4 separate regions of the Homo sapiens genome follow, and all the other regions are linked to region 3. Evidence: promoter capture Hi-C in 16 types of primary human blood cells and fetal thymus (Javierre and others, 2016). All regions are on one chromosome and are shown on one strand. The core of a region is centred on a gene start or on the middle of the fragment in contact, and the rest is flanking DNA. Distances in the headings are between cores, read along the strand shown. Region 1 has its middle 20 kb from the start of MORF4L2. Region 2 has its middle 17 kb from the start of RAB9B. Region 3 holds the start of SLC25A53 (solute carrier family 25 member 53). Region 4 overlaps PLP1 (proteolipid protein 1).

What was found. The method cuts DNA at HindIII sites, captures the fragments that hold promoters and counts their contacts. A CHiCAGO score of 5 or more calls a contact.
Region 1: a fragment that was not itself captured here is called in contact with the fragment with the promoter of SLC25A53 in region 3 in 1 of 17 cell types (neutrophils); the score reaches 5.7 in neutrophils.
Region 2: a contact is called between a fragment that was not itself captured here and the fragment with the promoter of SLC25A53 in region 3, in 2 of 17 cell types (total B cells and naive CD8 T cells). The highest score is 6.7, in total B cells.
Region 4: a fragment that was not itself captured here is called in contact with the fragment with the promoter of SLC25A53 in region 3 in 2 of 17 cell types (naive B cells and monocytes); the score reaches 5.5 in naive B cells.

Annotation. Positions count from the first base shown.
Region 1 is chrX:103,665,440-103,668,139 of GRCh38, forward strand. No RefSeq gene overlaps it. Among named protein-coding and RNA genes, the nearest start is that of MORF4L2, 20 kb to the right of the region's middle. The HindIII fragment of the contact is 2,959 bases long and covers 1-2,700 here.
Region 2 is chrX:103,814,181-103,816,880 of GRCh38, forward strand. It overlaps a transcript of RAB9B not described here. Among named protein-coding and RNA genes, the nearest start is that of RAB9B, 17 kb to the right of the region's middle. The HindIII fragment of the contact is 4,661 bases long and covers 1-2,700 here.
Region 3 is chrX:104,155,715-104,158,414 of GRCh38, forward strand. SLC25A53 (solute carrier family 25 member 53) reads right to left here and starts at 1,295. Exons shown (of 2, transcript NM_001012755.5): 1 at 1,164-1,295. It also overlaps a transcript of FAM199X not described here. RefSeq lists an enhancer at 1,069-1,368. The HindIII fragment of the contact is 6,927 bases long and covers 1-1,505 here.
Region 4 is chrX:103,787,707-103,790,362 of GRCh38, forward strand. It overlaps PLP1 (proteolipid protein 1), which reads left to right. Exons shown (of 7, transcript NM_000533.5): 4 at 92-260; 5 at 731-804; 6 at 1,627-1,692. It also overlaps a transcript of RAB9B not described here. Among named protein-coding and RNA genes, the nearest start is that of PLP1, 12 kb to the left of the region's middle. The HindIII fragment of the contact is 1,108 bases long and covers 697-1,804 here.

The sequences.
Region 1 (2,700 bases), core at 109-2,608, 490 kb before region 3:
GTTAGTCAAACTGGAATTCTGTCTGGAGTGAGATCAGGTTCCAGGCTCACTGGAATTAGTTTTATAAGAGAGGATAAATCCATCCCCCTAACGCTAAGAGTGGTGGTGCTTAGGCAGGAGGTGGAAGGGCTCACTCAGGCCACATTCCCCTCTGGGGTGGGTCTGACTTTTGTTTCTCTGCCTGCAGCAGGCACAGGGCCCTTTTAGGCTAATGGCCAAGCTGCCCTGCACAGACACACCTGGAGGAGGAGAACCGACTGCCCTATTGCAGGTCAGAACACTTTGCCTTTCCCTCCTTTCCCCTCTCTCTTTTGGGGAACATTTTGTAGGGGAGGAGATAAAGCCCCAAAGTGTCCTGGCAGGAAACATTCATTGGGATAGTCTTTGAGCAAGCAGATGTCTGAACAGATCTGACCAGGTAACTTGAGGTTGAAGCAGAAGGGGCTGACCCTTCTCTCAGAGTCCAGTTAGCCCCCAAGAAGACTGGGGCACACAAAACCTCACCCATCCGTCTCCCACCCACCTTGCTCAGACTCCCAGAAGGGCTTTGATGTGCCCTGGCCTGTTTGGTTGGTTCTGCAAGGACTTTAGCTCTGTGTCTGCCTGGTGCAGTGCATCTGATGCCTCAGTCATCCCAAACCCAGAAATACAGAAGACCCCAGATAAAGGGAACTTGCAAAGACATGTGGTCCTACAACTCAGGAGAAAGGGGGTGTCACTTTCTATCTGAAAATCCCCATGCACTGCAGGCCCAGCTCATGACTTGGGAGCCAGGACAGTCAAGCTGTGAATTGGTATGAAGATGCTTTTTAAGGCATTGGTGGTGGAGGGTCAGCAGCATCCAGAGCCTGCTTCTGTGGGCCCCTCACCACCTGCCTACCCACACAGAAGGCTGGTATGTCAATCGCATATCCAAGCAGTGACTTATCTGGCCAATTCCAGAGCAGAAAGCACGGAACAGCCAGAACCTTGGAGAGAGAGCTCTGTGCTAACCAGGATCCCCCTGCTCTTAGGAGACAGTGCAAAAGAGTGTGAGCCCCTCTGGTGGGGCAGCATAGAAGGGATCAGGCTCAGGGTCTTTGCAAAATTTTCAGGGTTGAGTCAGCAGAAGGTAAGTGGACAGCAAGGAAGCAGTCACTGAGTCAGTCTACCCTTACATTCATGATTCGTGCTAAGGACACACTTTTCCCAGACTGCTCCCACACCATGACTTAGCACAGCTGAGCCACTAGAGCCATGCCATTTCTGCTCAATGGGAGACTTTTAATCTTTGCTTGTACTCCCCATTGGCCTGGTCCATAGCTTCTCAAATGAACTGAAGTCTGGGACTCTTTCTACCTAATTCTTCTTCCTTCCCTCTGCTTTCACAGATGTGACATGTGGATCACAGTCTAAAGGCTCTCCCCATCTTCTCTTGCTCTTTCTCCCTTTATCTATTGTGTTTCCCCAGTAAATCTATTTATGTCTAATCTTGTTTTGACATCAGCTTTTAGGTAGGCCTGTTATACAATCATGGTGCTTTCACAAATGAGATCTCATGTTTCACATTTCTCAAAACCTGCTCCTTTTCAGAGAGCCAGGATAGTACAGTAGCTAACAGCTGTCAAGAGTAGTCACTAACTGGGTTCAAATCCCAGATCTGCCACTCTTAGCTGTGTGTCCTTGGCCTCTGTGCCTCTTGTAAAATGGGGATAATTCCATTACTTCCTCTTAGGGTTGTTGTGAGGTTTACATAAATTATTACATAGTCCATTTAATGTCAACACATAGTAAGTAATAAATATCAGCTGTTTTTTGTTGTTGTTGTTGTTGTTGTTGTTGTGGGTTTTTTTTCCATCTCTGATAGGTGAAGTCAGAGAAGGGGGAAAGATCTCACCAGGCCCAGTAGCTATTAAAGGGTTTGGCACTGGAACTCTCATTCTAAAGTTCTGGAGCTCTAAGTACATATGCTTTATTGATTTTTAACCTATAAGCTAAAATTAAGTTTCAGGAAAACACATGAAACAGTTAAATAGCTTGATTATTGTTGCCCCCTACTTTCAACTTCACTGGATGTGTAACTCCCAAAATGAAAATGGTATGATGATATTGTTCCTTTTCCTGTAGGATCCATCAGACAGCTCATTCTGGAATACAGAAATGGCACTGAAGATCATACCTGCGTTTTCCCCTTCTTGTTATTACCTTTGCAAATGTTCTTTATAAAGTAAAGAATGTCAAAGGCATAACTTTCAAGGAAGGGAGGAAGCAGAATAGGAAGGGAACTAATATTTGTTTGAGTGTCCACTATGGGCCAGATGAAGTGTTTCATGTTTTAAGTTGGTTCTCTCTTTAATTCTCATAATTCTGTAGGCAGGCAGAATTGTTTTCTACCAAGGTAGGCAGCCGTATCTTCCCTAAACAAAGAAGTAAATGGAACTCAGAGGTTGAGTATATATTCCAAGGCCCTAAATCTAGTAAGTTTGAGAGCTTGGATTCAAACCCAGGTCTGTCACACTCCAAAACCCACACTCTCCCCCACTCTACCTTAAAAAAAAATTCTAATGTTATACTGTGATCTTCCAGGACTCAGGGACTAGTTGGTTTAAATTTCCATGACAGAATGTTAAATTAAAAGTTTCCTCTTAGGCATTAACATATAACAGATATGAAATCAAAGCCAGGTTTCCAAAGGAAATAACCAAGCGGCTCTAAAACCCA
Region 2 (2,700 bases), core at 98-2,597, 340 kb before region 3:
TTGGAAGTAAAAGACTCCTTAGCAAATGTAAAAGAACAGAAATTACAACAAACTGTCTCTCAGACCACAGTGCAATCAAATTAGAACTCAGGATTAAGAATCTCACTCAAAACCGCACAACTACATGGAAACTGAACAACCTGCTCCTGAATGACTACTGGGTAAATAACGAAATGAAAGCAGAGATAAAGATGTTCTTTGAAACCAATGAGAACAAAGGCACAACATACCAGAATCTCCTGGACACATTTAAAGCAGGGTTTAGAGGGAAATTTATAGCACTAAATGTCCACAAGAGAAAGCAGGAGAGATCTAAAATCGACACCCTAACATCACAATTTAAAGAACTAGAAAAGGAAGAGCAAACAAATTCAAAAGCTAGCAGAAGACAAGAAGTAACTAAGATCAGATCAGAACTGAAGGAGATAGAGACACAAAAAACCCTTAAAAAAATCAATGAATCCAGGAGGTGTTTTTTTGAAAAGACCAACAAAATAGGTAGACTGCTAGCAAGATTAATAAAGAAGAAAAGAGAGAAGAATCAAATACACGCAATAAAAAATGATAAATGGGATATCACCCCTGATCCCACAGAAATACAAACTACCATCAGAGAATACTATAACACCTCTATGCAAATTAACTAGAAAATCTAGAAGAAATGGATAAATTCCTGGACACATACACCCTCCCAAGACAAACCACAAAGAAGTTGAATCTCTGAATAGACCAATAACAGGTTCTGAAATTGAGACAATAATTAATAGCCTACCAACCAAAAAAAAGTCCAGGACTAGATGGATTCACAGCCGAATTCTACCAGAGGTACAAAGGGGAGATGGCACCATTCCTTCTGAAACTATTACAAACAATAGAAAAAGAGGGAATCCTCCCTAACTCATTTTATGAGACCAGCATCATCCTGATACCAAAGCCTGGCAGAGACAGACACAACAAAAAAAGAGAATTTTAGGCCAGTATCCCTGATGAACATCGATGTGAAAATCCTCAACAAAATACTGGCAAACCGAGTCCAGCAGCACATCAAAAACCTTATCCTCTGCAATCAAGTTGGCTTCATCCCTGGGATGCAAGGCTGGTTCAACATACACATATCAATAAAGGTAATCCATCACATAAACAGAACCAATGATAAAAACCACATGATTATATCCATAGATGCAGAAAAGTCCTTTGACAAAATTCAACAGCATTTCATGCTAAAAACTCTCAATATCGATGGAACGTATCCCAAAATAATAAGAGCTATTTATGACAAACCCACAGCCAATATCATACTGAATGGGCAAAAACAGGAAGCATTCCCTTGGAAAACTGGCACAAGACAAGGATGCCCTCTCTCACCACTCCTATTCAACATAGTATTAGAAGTTCTGGCCAGGGCAATCAGGCAAGAAAAAGCAATACAGGGTATTCAAATAGGAAGAGAGGAAGTCAAATTGTCTCTGTTTGCAGATGCCATGATTGTATATTTAGAAAACACCATTGTCTCAGCCCAAAATCTTCTCAAGCTGATGAGCAACTTCAGCAAAGTCTAAGGATACAAAATCAATGTGCAAAAATCACAAGCATTCCTATACACCAATAACAGACAAACAGAGAGCCAAACTATGAGTGAACTCCCATTCACCATTGCTACAAAGAGAATAAAGTGCCTAGGAATACAACTTACACAGGATGTGAAGGACCCCTTCAAGAACTACAAACCACTGCTCAAGGAAATAAGAGAGGACACAAACAAATGGAAAAACATTCCACGCACATGGATATGAAGAATCAATATCATGAAAATGGTCTTACCGCCCAAAGTAATTTATAGATTCGATGCTATCCCCATCAAGCTATCAATGACTTTCTTCACAGAGTTGGAAAAAACTACTTTATACTTCATATGGAACCAAAAAAGAGCTCGCATAGCCAAGACAATCCTGGGCAAGACGAACAAAGCTGCAGGCATCAAGCTACCTGACTTCAAACTTTACTACAAGACTACAGTAACCAAAACAGCATGGTACCGGTACCAAAACAGATATATAGACCAATGGAACAGAACAGAGGTCTCAGAAATAACACCACACATCTACCACCATCTGATCTTTGGCAAACCTGACAAAAATAAGAAATGGGGAAAGGATTCCCTATTTAATAAATGGTGCTGGGAAAACTGGCTAGCCATATGTGGAAAGCTGAAACTAGACCCCTTCCTTACACCTTATACAAAAATTAATTCAAGATGGATTAAAGTCTTAAACGTAAGACCTAGGACCATAAACATCCTAGAAAAAAACCTGAGCAATACCATTCAGGACATAGGCATGGGCAAAGACTTCAAGTCTAAAACACCAAAAGCAATGGCAACAAAAGCCAAAATTGACAAATGGGATCTAATTAAACTAAAGAGCTTCTGCACAGAAAAATAAACTATTATCAGAGTGAACAGGCAACCTACAGAATGGGAGAAAATTTTTGCAATCTATCCATCTGACAAAGGGCTAATATCCAGAATCTATACAGAATTTAAACAAATTTACAAGAAAAAATCAAACAACCCCATCAAAAAGTGGGTGAAGGATATGAACAGACACTTCTCAAAAGAAGACATTTATTCAGCCAACATACATATAAAAATGCTCATCATCACTGGTCATTAGAGAAATGCAAATCAAAACCACAATGAGA
Region 3 (2,700 bases), core at 45-2,544:
CCATTGTGATGGGCAAATGCTCTTACCAGAAATAAACTAGTTGTGGGGACCGGGCGCGGTGGCTCATGCCTGTAATACCAGCACTTTGGGAGGCCGAGGCAGGCGGATCACTTGAGGTCAGGAGTTCGAGGCCAACCTGGCCAACATGGTAAAACCCCGTCTCTACTAAAAATATAAAAATATAAAAATTAGCCGGGAGTGGTGGTGGGTGCCTCTAATCCCAGCAACCCGGGAGGCTGAGGCAGGAGAATCACTTGAACCCGGCAGACGGAGGTTGCAGTGAGCGGAGATCACGCCACTGCATTCCAGCCTGGGCGACAGAAGTAGAGAGACTCCTTATCAAAAAAAAAAAAAAGAAAGAAAGAAAGAAAAAAAAAAAGAAATACACTAATTTTGGGCCTTAAATGCTACTCAGTTCTCCAGTTCACCTCAACAGGGAGGGAAGGTGCTTGGAGGAAAATTGCACTTCGTTTTTGCCCTGCTTATTTTGTCTTCAAAATATATGTTAAATCACCGCATCAAAGAGCCGTCCCAGATCTCAACTCCCAGATGAGTTCGGTGGCACCCAATAGATTTTCATAACACAGGATCTATCTCTGTCTCCTTGTATTGTAATAGCCTGTCTCCAAATGCAGATAGCAACCGGCAGGCTGTAAATGTCGAGGAAAAAGCCTAATTCCTTTCCTCATCCGGAGCCTCTAGTGCAGTACCCAGCACAGAGCAGGTACTTGGTATTTTGGTAAGGGAAATCAATCAACGCATCAATAGCAGAATCTGAAACCAGGGACCTAGATCTTTCCAATAAAATCATCCTGCTGAGATGTGACTCAGATGTACTGGTGCCCAGCAGACAACACGTTTTCGCCCTGATTTTATCCTCCATTCATCCGTCCGCCCCCTCCCCCATAGACCCCGCCTGTCCCCAGCTAAAAATAATGAGGGGATTCACACATCTCAGTGTCAACACACACAACACAGTTGACACGCCCCTTAATCCTACAGCTACGCCATCAATTCTCGCCGCCGGGTCCGTCCGCTTGTCAGTTTCCCCTACTCCTCATCCCCTCGCAACTTCTGATCCCCTATCACTTCCGTTCCCGTTTGCCTGCTAGGCTGGAAGCAGGATGTGTCTACGCCCTCAGCCCATAAGAAGTGCTACAAACCTCCGCCTCGCTCGCTGTCATGGCGGCGACCGACGGCCCCTTTCCTGTGGCCTCAGAAAGCAGCGACAGTCGCAGTCACCGGACCTTCGCCCATCCGCCGCCCTCACTTAAGCGACGCACAACGGAGCTCCCACAATCCTCTTTGCTTCCGCTCTCTTTATTTCCGCCTCCCCCGCCCCCGCCTCGACATTAACCGTTTCGCGACTACGTCAGTTGGCCGGTCTGTTTGGGAGAGCCAGGCGACTAATCTGGTATAGAGACCGAAAAACACAGGTAAAAAGACCTAAAAGACTTAGTCATCTATTGGAACATTTCCCCAGTTTGTTTGTAAGTTGGCTTGCAAGCTTATCAGTCATTCTCAAACAGGAGCTTAACTTACTTAGGTGAACAGTTCATGATGACGCCTTTAAGCTGCTAGACCAACCCAAACTCCGAATTTGCAGTTTCTGACCTTTCACCTTGAACCTGTGCCCTTTCTACCCTCTATTCTCCATCTCCTTTTGGTTCTTGTCTGACTCTTTAGCTGCATATGTAAAGAGCACAGACTTTGAAACCTGAGCTCCCGCGTTCGAATCCCCACTGTACCACTATCTAAACATGGCATCTTGGGCAAGTGATTCAAGCATGCTATTCCTTGGCTTTTTCATCTGTAGAATTGGTATAATAATAGTACTTACCTCCAGAGTTGCAGTAAAAATATTAAAATTTCACATGTGAGGAGCACCTAGAACATTGCCTATCATGAAGTTAAGCAGTATATTGAAATATAAATTATAATGATTGAATTTGATCTCACCTAAGACCTCTGGCTAATAAATAATAAATGATAATAATCATTTCACCTGGGATAGAGGGGATTGCCCTGTTCTCTCCAGGCTGAGGCTGTAATACCTGATTCTAGGGACTGCTGATATGGAAATTACTACCACTCTGGCTGGAGTCAGAAGAGTATATTAAAGAGTCTCTTTGTACTGTCCTAAAATAAGCAAAATCCAACGTTTGCAGTTCTATGGACCACGCACTATGATAAGTGCTTTAAACCCATTTTGTTGTTATTGCTTCATCCTCACAATAGCCCTTTGCTGGTTCTTAAGTGTATTACCCTTTCCTGTCCTCTTTGTCTGCTTAAAGCAGCTAAGAAAACTCAGATTAGTCAGATTGCATATAAATCAATAACTTGCCCACGGTCACAGAGCTAATAACAAATAGAGCCAAGACTTAAACTCAGATACATTCAGATGTGTCTTGGTATTTCTCAAATATCACTGAGAAAAAGGCCACCATAAATTCTTTTCAAGTGCTCTCTCTCCCCCAACTCCCCACCCCAAGAATTGCCTGAATGCCCATACAGAAAGACTAGGTTCTCTTCAGAAGCAGAAGGGCAGAACCCACTAAGGCAAAGATCTCTCCCTTGAAGGCTGGCAGCCAAGGAGGTGACTATAGTAGGAATTGGCATAACCAGCTCACTCATTGCCCTCCACTGTGCCACACAGGCCCCATTACTTCCTATAGTACTGAAGACCACTGGGGATAAAGG
Region 4 (2,656 bases), core at 1-2,500, 370 kb before region 3:
CTGGCACACGCCACTCCAGGATCTCCCAGTTTGTGTTTCTACATCTGCAGGCTGATGCTGATTTCTAACCACCCCATGTCAATCATTTTAGTTTGTGGGCATCACCTATGCCCTGACCGTTGTGTGGCTCCTGGTGTTTGCCTGCTCTGCTGTGCCTGTGTACATTTACTTCAACACCTGGACCACCTGCCAGTCTATTGCCTTCCCCAGCAAGACCTCTGCCAGTATAGGCAGTCTCTGTGCTGATGCCAGAATGTATGGTGAGTTAGGGTACGGGTGCTTTGGCTCTCCTACCCACTATGGAAGCACTATATATTTGGTTATTTTCTTAGTGTAAGGAGGGTGGTGATTATGAGAAAAATATAAGATGATGAATGATTGGGTCTTAGTTTATTAATCCTTCCCTACTGAAACCAGAGAGGTTTCTTCCCCGGGAAGGGAACTTGGAAGTGGTGGGAGTTTTCTTGGCCATTCACATTGGCCTACTCTAGTTGACTGCTGTTCACAACCCCAAAGCAGCACATTTCAATAACAAACACAAGGTTTCACCACTGTTCAATACCACCTTCTCTTTTTTGTAAACCTGTAGAAAAGAGGATCCTGATTGTTGGTAGAATCCAACTTTACAGCCAGGATAATTAGAGATGGAAGAAGGGCTCTGGGGGAAAGTCTCCATGTGGCCCCGTAACTCCATAAAGCTTACCCTGCTTGCTTTTTGTGTCTTACTTAGGTGTTCTCCCATGGAATGCTTTCCCTGGCAAGGTTTGTGGCTCCAACCTTCTGTCCATCTGCAAAACAGCTGAGGTGAGTGGGTTATTTGGGTTATTTTACAAGGGAGTAGCTAATACCATACAAATTACACCCATGGCCTTCAATTTTAAGGACTGAAAGTTTCCCTTTGCTGGATTTTGAATTAGCCGATTGCCTTCTACAACATGTTGGCTAAGTGTGCCTGAGCCAATGAGCATAGAAGGTAAAACACCTGTTTTCTCTAGAGTTGCATAGAAAGACTTCCTTTCCAACCCTTCCCCTCTTAAAAGAGAAGTTTGTAGCTTTAGGTAAAGATAGAGCCTAATGGCAAAATCCCCCACATGAAAATTTTCATTCCTTTAGTTAAAAACCATATCAAGAAAATGGGCTGTGCACAGAGGCATTCATAGGTTTTATGAAAACATTTTCAATTTGGAACTTCTTTATCTCAAATGAGAGGTAAAATAAGTACATTTGAAAGGGAAAGCACTGTATTGAGAACAGATATTATATACAAATGAGGCAGGGGAATAAAAGTAAATCCGGGGGAGACAGGCAGTAAATTATTTCTTTGACAGCAAAATGTTGACTTTAAATTTTGGGCCCCTGGGCACAACTGTAGGGAACCAGTTAATTATTTTGGAGTACTGTACTATTTCATGACTATTCTGTGATCTGGGTGTTAATGGGCCAGGTGCTATGGTGTACACTGAAGACTGGGAGGCCCACATTTAGGGAAGTGAAAACTTAGTTAGAGATGTGGAATTAGCACACAAGAAAGATATCAACACATTCAGAAAGCTGTATTCATGATTTACAGTGGAGCATATTACTGCTGTTGCAAGAAACAGTTCTTCCTCTTTCATTTTCCTGCAGTTCCAAATGACCTTCCACCTGTTTATTGCTGCATTTGTGGGGGCTGCAGCTACACTGGTTTCCCTGGTGAGTTGACTTTGAATGATCTTGGCAAGTAAATAGGCCTGAGATAGTGTGGGTACAGCTATTCTGAAAGGCAAGAAGGTAGACTGCTTCCATCCTTGAAATGCTGGAGGGAAGCTTCTGGGAAGATAGCAAAGGGTGGAGGCTCCGTACTTCTACTTGCATTGGCAAGGCAGAAAGACATCACAAATTAGATGGGAACAAGAAAAGTGGTATGAGGAAAGAGGTAAGAGATTCATAGACACGAATGATAATATTTAGTATTTATAGAACATGTAATGTTGCCAAGTACTTTGCAGTCATAAATTACGGTTAATTCTCAATACATTTTGATCAGATCAGTGACAAAACACTGAAACATCACGAAACATGACTTGCTATAGCCTGGAATTCTATATACTATCAATATGAATCCACTTTGGATACTCTCCAGTGGATTTAGTTACTCATATGGAAATACTGGGAGGACCTCCTAACATTATTAGAATTGTTATGATTATAATACAATGCTATGTCCCAGGTCTTGCTGATAGTGCTACAGTGCCCTGTGAATGTAGTGTGCTCATTGTGCAGATTAAAAACCTAAGGCACTGAAGGGTGAAGTGATTTATCTGAAGTTATTTTATAAGCAGTGATCAGACAAGATGAGCTCACAGAACTCCTGGCCCCTACTGCTGAGGTTTCCATACAGAGTCAAGTAATTTCTCACCTTGTAAAACGAATTGATTCATTAACCAGGGGAGAGCTCTACTGCATGATGTGGCTGTGTGTCTACAGCAAGCACCCTATGACTCTAAGTCACTCGGACATATTGATGTGGCAAAGCCCAAATATTGTTCACTTCCCTGAGGAAAACTCAGTGCTAGATCAAACAGAGGTGTGGAATAAATCTTTATGATTTGATTCTCTGGGCCTGGGCCATGAGACCCATGATGCCTCAGAGACATCGGACTTCCAGTCAAGTGTA